2 separate regions of the Homo sapiens genome follow, and region 2 is linked to region 1. Evidence: promoter capture Hi-C in 16 types of primary human blood cells and fetal thymus (Javierre and others, 2016). All regions are on one chromosome and are shown on one strand. Each heading gives the region's core, a stretch centred on a gene start or on the middle of the fragment in contact. The rest is flanking DNA. Distances are from core to core; before and after follow the strand shown. Region 1 holds the start of ADAMTS18 (ADAM metallopeptidase with thrombospondin type 1 motif 18). Region 2 overlaps VAT1L (vesicle amine transport 1 like).

The links. Contacts are between HindIII fragments. The CHiCAGO score rates a contact against its expected background, and 5 or more counts as called.
Region 2: a contact is called between a fragment that was not itself captured here and the fragment with the promoter of ADAMTS18 in region 1, in 1 of 17 cell types (endothelial precursors). The highest score is 8.3, in endothelial precursors.

Annotation. Positions count from the first base shown.
Region 1 is chr16:77,432,744-77,436,736 of GRCh38, reverse strand. ADAMTS18 (ADAM metallopeptidase with thrombospondin type 1 motif 18) reads left to right here and starts at 1,703. Exons shown (of 23, transcript NM_199355.4): 1 at 1,703-2,131; 2 at 2,232-2,319. The coding sequence starts at 2,042. RefSeq lists an enhancer at 1,507-2,007. The HindIII fragment of the contact is 7,514 bases long and covers 1-3,993 here.
Region 2 is chr16:77,975,020-77,979,012 of GRCh38, reverse strand. It overlaps VAT1L (vesicle amine transport 1 like), which reads right to left. Exons shown (of 9, transcript NM_020927.3): 9 at 1-1,416. The coding sequence ends at 1,318. Among named protein-coding and RNA genes, the nearest start is that of CLEC3A, 46 kb to the left of the region's middle. The HindIII fragment of the contact is 4,854 bases long and covers 1-3,993 here.

The DNA.
Region 1 (3,993 bases), core at 454-2,953:
GTGAGGCTTAGCTTCATGTTCCTTAGGCAGACACATCACCTTCTCTGCCGCTACAGCCTGGGTTTACCTCTTCCCAGCTGCATTCCATAAAACCGACTATGTGTATTGAGCTATCACTTAATCGAGGCTTGACATAGACCTCATGTTAACTACTTCAGTACCCACAGGACTGAGCAGAGTAATACATCTACTTCCACTACCACTACCCTGGTCCAAGCAAGACACTGTCATTGTACCCCTTCATGCCAGCAACAGCTGCGTGGTTTGTTTCTCTCTGACCCTGCCTCAGCTCGTCCAATCCCTACACTCGCTCAAAAAATGGTTCACATTTTTTTATTATTGGATATGATGTTGCCTCCTACACATACACAAACCCACATTCATTTAAATCTAATGGTTTCCAACATGCTTCGCCCCAGCTTACAAGGTCCAGCTGACCCAGCAACTGCTGTGTTTGCTTCTTCCTCTGGCCTGTAACACTTTTCACGTGGCAATCACTTAACTACCTTGAGACCTTCACTTATGCTGTGCCCCCTGTCCTAACATGCAAGATCCTACTCCCCTCTTCCCTTATAAAACCGATCCACTCTCTCTGGCCTTATTTTAAGTGTCAGCTCCTAACAGATGCCTTGCACGTGTATGTATGCGTGTGTGTGTGTATATATATGTGTGTGTGTATATATACACCCACACACACACACACACACACACACACACACACACATCTTATCCCATCTAAATTAGATTCTGCTGCCATCTAATTTAGGAGACTATTCTTTTCCTTTTTAGTATTTGTGTTCATTTTGCTTCTATTACCGTTGTCGAGCTATCCAATCAGATTCGTTTCCACTGGCCCGTGAGACTGTATTTTGTTCACCTCTGCAAACAGGGATCAAAGGATCAAATAAATGTCTTGAGTAAACGAACAGGCACACAGCAAACTGGATGCACATTCCTAGTGATGGCGTGCGCTGTTTGTTATAACTGATTTCTGTGGGTTTGGGTATCTGGGGCCAAGATTCAATCTCGAAGAGTGGGAAGCACGGTCACGTCAAGAAGAGAGAGAGAGATCCGGGAGAAGAGGGAGGCCCCCGCGTGCCATGAGTTTTTACATGCTGCAGACAGTGACAGCTCATTGTTCTGGTCCTCCCGGCTGCCTCAGATTTGCTGACTCTGGGAAGCTAGGTCAGCTTGTGCGCATCTGAGCCTCCTTTTCCTCATCTTTATCAAGGAATTAATAATTCCCACCTGAAAAAGGTAGGGCCTGAGGCAAATGCGATACAGCAGGGGATAGCTCCCAGCACTTAGGAGGTGTTGAGGACGCTATCTTGACTCTTTGCCAGAAGAGTTGAAAATGAGAAGTCTGCACAGGCAGCGAAAAAGTCGCGCCACTCACCTGAGCCTTTCGTCTTCCGAACTCATCTCCCAGTGCGCTTAAATTACGTTTTCCAAGCCTGACCCTGGGCGCTCCCCTCCTTCTCATGGCGGTCGGTCCCTCCCTCCCTATCACTCCCACCCAGCCTCCCCGCCCCCTTCGCCCCCTCCCTCAGAGCTGGAGCCGGGAATCCCACGCCCTTGCACCAGCCCGGGGGCTCGGACGAGCCCGGGAGCCGCTGGTCGCCAATCACCGCGCGGTGGAGAGGCGGGCGCTCGGCTCCGGCGCGCTGGGGGAGCCAGCTGGCGCTGTCTTCCCCATCGCCTCAGACGCTCACACCGACACAGACAGACGCACAGACGGGCGGGCAGACACCGACAGTCTCCCAACCGTTTGCGCTCCAGTCCCGGCCCAGGGAGCCCCCCGTACCCTCTGGGGTGCCGCAAACTGCAGCTCGGCAGGCCCGCGCCGGGAGAAGGGAGGGCGCGCAGGCGGCCGGAGGAGGGGAGGTCCCAGCGCGCCCCCGCTGCGATGTGAACGGCGGCGGCTCTCACCTGGAGCCGCACCTGGGGCGCCGAGCTCCGGGGCCGCGGAAAGAATGCGCGCCGCCCGTGCGCTCCGCCTGCCGCGTCTGGCCACCCGCAGCCGCCGCGTCCGCACCTGACCATGGAGTGCGCCCTCCTGCTCGCGTGTGCCTTCCCGGCTGCGGGTTCGGGCCCGCCGAGGGGCCTGGCGGGACTGGGGCGCGTGGCCAAGGCAGGTGCCGCCGAGCGGAGCTCCGAGAGCGGGTGGCAGGGGGCGCCCGACGCCAGCCCCGCCGCGCCCCTCACGCGCGATGTCACCTTTTCTCTTGCAGGCGCTCCAGCTGTGCTGCCTCTGCTGTGCGTCGGTCGCCGCGGCCTTAGCCAGTGACAGCAGCAGCGGCGCCAGCGGATTAAATGATGGTTCGTATTTGCCCCCCATCCCCAAGAAGGGCCTTTCGCAGCACTTTGACCCTTCCTTCCCCCAAAGAGAGAAAAGATGGAAAAGCGCACCCCCTAACCTGGCAGGTGTGCGCTGTCTTGGAAATGGTTCCTGTTTGGAGAGGGGGGAAGGTTGGCAAGGACTGAACTTATCAAAAGAATCAACGCCCCGAGCTGCAAGTCACATAAAAGCAAATACTCTCCCTCCTTCACAGGTGGCTTGTTAAGAAGAACAAGAAAAAAAAAAAAATCCTAACTGCAGTGAGAAATTCGAAGGGAAGTGGACATTAACTAAGGAATTACTTATTTCCTCCCTCTCCTAACTCTTGTTGGGGGAAGCTAATTCTTAGTGGGAGATGAAAGAATGTGAGCCTCTTTCCTCTCTCCATCTTTCCTCATTTTTCTCTCGACTTCTGTTCCTTTTCTATCTCTTCTTTTTTTTTCATTTCTGCTTCCCTTGTTTTACGGATGTCTAAGGCTGCTTTTAGAGAGAGGAAAGCAGGTGACTTCAGGTCTCTGAGTCCTTTATCTATCTTTTCTGACGTTCGCCAGCCACAAACTTCCAGAAAATCCCTCACTTCTGACATTTATTAACTTCCCAGTGGAGCCCAGAGGGAAATCCTTGTTTTGATTGTTTCCCATCAGCTACAGGAGAACAGCTGATTCCTGACGCAAGGTGTCTAGGAAAACCTTACAGCTCAACCTGGATTCTTTAGAATTCTGTAATTTTTAGTTTTGCAAGGTTATCTCCTTTTCTTGTCAGGGGAATGGGGAGTGGGGCAGGATGGAGTCATGGAGAAGGGATTCACCTTTTGTCCAAACAGAGAGGCTGCAGTTTCTAAAACCACCCCTCATTCTTATATCAGGATCAGATGGCTGGAGGCCACGTCCGACCCAGCCACAACCTTGTAAGGACCTCACCCTTACTCACCTCCTGAAGTGGTCAATCAGAGATCACTCTTTACAGGGGACACTGACTGCCCTTCTTCCATCAAGAACCGAATGTAACCGACAGCCTGTTATTCTCCCCTTGGAAACAAGCTGGTAGCAGGTGTCTGGGGCCGTTTGATGGCTGGTTCCATAGAAGGCTGGCTGGATAACGTTCCTACAGAGCCTTCCAAGTAAGAGCAGGCAGAGTTTCAGATGATTTGGGACAAGAAGGTGAGACACAGACTTCCTGCATATGTCAGGAATCTTTTTCATAGTTAAGTTTTAGTTTGACAGAAGGAGAAGGTAGACTTTCTCTAAGAAATTGCACATAATCAAGAGCCACATCCCTTTAAAGCAATGTATCAGATTTTTAAGAGAAGAAAAATATTGTATGTCTGGCTCAGATTTTCAAGGTTAAGAGAGGGGAAAAACTTTTCCCCCCATTATTGTAAAATATGTATGTCAATTATACAGCATTTTTAGTTAAAGGAGGGAGTCAAGAAGAAAAATGGGAGTGGGAGGACATAAAGAATATAAAAATGAAAGCTGCCCAAGGAATAAGTCACAGATGGTTCATAAACAGAAGAAAATTATTGTCTATTGTGGAGAATTCTTTTTTAATGTGAGCCTAATTAGGCCATCACTCATTGATCTTTGCTAGCTACAGGGGCTCCACTATTCCTTAGTTTTTTTTTTTTTATTGGAGGAGGGGGAAGGTTGTTGACT
Region 2 (3,993 bases), core at 997-3,496, 540 kb before region 1:
TTGGGGTATGAATCAAATGAGCTCCTGGTATCTCCACATTTGTTTGTGAGTGATAGTTAAGCATTTTAGCCAAAAGGACTGGAAGGACGGGGTGAGGAGCTCCCTCTGTTTCTCGAAGGTAACTGTATTCACCTCTCAAGCACAGTCAAATTGCATGGGGGTGGGGTTCCTTAGGAGCTGAAAAGTTGAACAAGGTGTGTGAGCAGGTGGCTTGTTCCTTGGTTTCCGAAGAGCAGGGCGCTGCAGATTCTACACCGGGGTTTATATATGGGAGGGGAGGAACTGTACATCTGACATCAGATGCTGAATATAAACCTTTTGTATCCCTAGAGTTTGTTACATGTTGGGACATGCTTTGGCAAGGAAGGAGATGCTCATTGACTTTTCCACCTATGGTCTGCAAAGGAACTCTTCTTTGGGAAATCCATGGTCAAAGTGGTCACTTTCCACCAGGAATTGAAATTTACAGAATTGGTAATGCAGGTGGCAAGTGTGCAAACACCAGCAATGCTCAGGAATGACTTCTGAATGTGTCTTGTATGTGGTGCTTTCTTAAAATTGAAACAGATATGGAGCAGGAAGAATCCTGCCCATGAGATGTATTTTGGAGGAGAAATCTTCACAGCAGGTCCTCAAACTCATGCTGTTGACCCATTGTCTACTGTGAAAAATCCATACCTGCCTCCCTGTGTTTACAGATAAGAGCCAGTGAAAGGGTCAGACACTGAAGGGGTAGAAGAGAATGGCTCAAACTTTTGACCGTAGTTGTCTCTTAAATGGAGAGAGAAAAAGTACTACTAGGAGAGTTTCTAAATTTGTGGGCTCATGAAAACATCCGGCCTACTCTCTTTCTGCTGGCCAAATTGGCAAGTGTTCTCATCAGAGGCATGGGTGGCCAGCAGCAAAAAAGTGTCACTGGCCTGAGGAATTCTAGGAGCTGGACAGGGCTCTGTGATAACACCTTTCCATCCAAACTTGTCTTTGCCCACGTCTGGTCTCTTAGGCATTGGGCCTGGGACTTGTATTAATTTGCAAGGCTGTTCTAGAACTGTCAAGAAGAACCCACAGATGGATGGTTTTGATACAGGGGAGAGGGGAATGTGTAATACACAGATAGGAGAGGGACATAATACTGCATGGCATGGGATTGGCACTTCAAAAAACAACAGTGATCAACAGCTTTTTAGCTCAGCTGACTGCAGACAAACACGACACGCACTGGACTACAGCATTTGTTCACTGGGGCACAGAAGAGTTTTCTCAGCCGGGTCCTCATCTTCCAAACCATCCTTCACATTCTCCCACCTGGGTCCTCAGTTACTGGATAAAGGGCATCCGCTCCTTGTTCTCGCTGTCTCCCTCGTGGTCCTCCTCCTCTTCCCCTGCTTCACTGGTCTCTGTGCTGTCATTGGCCATCTGTAATTCAAAAGAGGATGTTATTGAGGGTTGTGCAACCCAGCCTCGTCATCTCTGAGCATCTGACAGAGTCCTATGGGAGGACTTCTTGGGGGCTAGGAACTAGGGTTGCTTGTTTCCCTGGAAGGCAATGCAGGATTAGCTGTCATATGTTGGGCACCCTGAGAGACGGTGCTGAGATAAGGATTTGAATACCAGTATCTGGAATTTAGGAGATGATCCCAGGAAGCAGTAGCAGGGGAGTGAAGAAATGAGACCAAAAAGGGGAAGAATCCAATGCAGGGTATGTTAGTAAGTTGGTTCCTGTGTGGGCAGTGGGACTCAGTCCTGCTGGGGACCTCTGAGAGACCCTGGGGGACACATCTTAGAGCTGTCTCTTCTGAGGGAGGAGGAAGCCATGTTATGGCTAAGGGCTGCTCTCAGGGGAGGTGAGTTATCTCCCTGCACCCCACGCAGTTTCTGTGCAAAACTCAAGCATGCTCTGGTGACAAGAGTTAGCTCTCAGGCAGAGAGGGGCAGGTGCCCACAAGAGGTGCCCCTGGAGCGCAGGGGACCCGAATGCCAAGGGGAGGTGTGAGGGGTATTGAGAGCATCAGCTGCACAGAGTCCCCAGGGTTGAAGTCTTGATGCTGTCACTTAAGAAGAGCAGACACAACAACCAGAACAAAGGTGTATTGATCTGCTTTTTGGTCTCTCTTCCCCCAACTGGAATATAGTTTCTGGGAAGACAGGGATTTTGCCTGACTCCTTTTCTTTTGTTAATCACTGGTACCTGGCATAGTTATGATTACCCCTCTGGGTCTTCATTTCCGCCATCATTACAGTGGCGATAAATCCACCTACCTTATAAATTTGTTTTAAGAACCAGGTGAAAGAAAATGGAGTAATGTATCTAAAGAGTCTAGCAAAGGGCTGAGCATATGACAGAGACTCAGAACAAACTAGTTCTGTCCATTAACATCCCCTACATGATCTGTGCCTCAGATTTCTTTTCTGTTCTTATCCCCTGATCTAGATTGGGCCCCAGATCTCCCACACTTGAGTCCTTGGCTGCTTCATGGCTTATTCTGACAAACAGGAATTTGGCCCCTGAATCTCAGCTCTCCCCATGTTGTCTCACCTGAAGCTGGGTTCTCCCCCTTGGCCACACCATGTGCAGTGCCTTCTCCCTGGAATGTCATTCCTCTACCCCCTCTGCCCAGTTCATCCAGTCCATACCTATGTTTCCTTTAGGGCTCATCCTGCTTCCTCAAGGAAGCCTTTGCAGAATTCCCTAACTGGAACAATCTCCCTATTATGAGCTTTCATGGCCCAAATACCTCTTCTTTGTAGCACTGATCAAGAGCTGCAATGTCCCATTTATATGAATGGCTCATTGGCCAATGTCCATCTGCCCCTGCCAAACGGTAGACACCACGGGAGAGGACCATGTCTCTGCAGTTTTCTTCCCTACCACTAGGTACATATGCAACAAGTGTTTTAGGATAATGAAGAACTAACCAGCTAAGCTGTTCCTTAGTAGTGTATATTATAATACATAGTCACCAATATGCCAATTGGCTCGCAGACATTGGTTCTTTTAATCTTCTCTATGGCTCTTTGAAGTAGCAGCAATAGTAGTAATTATTGTTGTTAGTTCTGTTCTACAGCAGTGGAAAGGGAGACCCTGAGGTGATGTGAACACAGAATCCATAAGGGCAGCAGAGGTCAGTAGCCTTCAGGAAAGGCCACCTCTATTCTCTGGGGCACTGGTCAGATGGCCAGGACTGGGGCAGGGCTGCCCGCTGGTACTGTGGGGTCTGGAGGCAGCAGTTCTGCCTCTGCTCTGACCTCATGACACATCATAGGATGAGTTTCGACTTTGCTTTGGTCCAGCCTCATTAAGAGGAGGCTTTCAGCAGGAGAGACTCCACTCTTAGTGTTTCCCAGGAAATTTACTTCTGGAGCTGCCAGTAGCAGTCGACTTCCCCTGCCTGGGTGCTGCCCACACGCCTTAGAGCCCAGACTATTCTAGAGGAGCAGTGTGTGTCCTGCAGCATGCTGGCTGGGCAGATTCGGGGCTGAGTGAGGGCTGAGACTGGTCATGGCCGGGCGCGGTGGCTCACGCCTGTAATCCCAGCACATTGGGAGGCCAAGGCGGGCAGATCACCTGAGGTCAGGATTTCAAGAACAACCTGGCCAACATGGTGAAACCCCATCTCTACTAAAAATACAAAAATTAGCCAGGTGTGGTGTGGTGAGCACCTCTAATCCCAGCTATTCTAGAGGCTGTGGCATGAGAATTACTTGAACCCGGAAGGCGAAGGTTGCAGTGAGCTGAGATCACACCACTGCACTCCAGCCTGGGTGACAGAATGAGACTGTCTTTAAAAAAAAAAAAAAAAAAAAAAAAAAAAAAAAAAGTGGTCATTCCAGTAGGAGAAAGCACCTCTGCAGGCGCCTCTGTCCCCTCCTCCAGCACCTGCTGAGCGGACAGCGACACATCCTGTGGAGCCTGGAGCTTGAGTTGTTTCCTCTTCTGTCAGGTGCTAACCCTAAAATGACCTCACTGGATCCCTCCTGCATCTCCATGTCTTC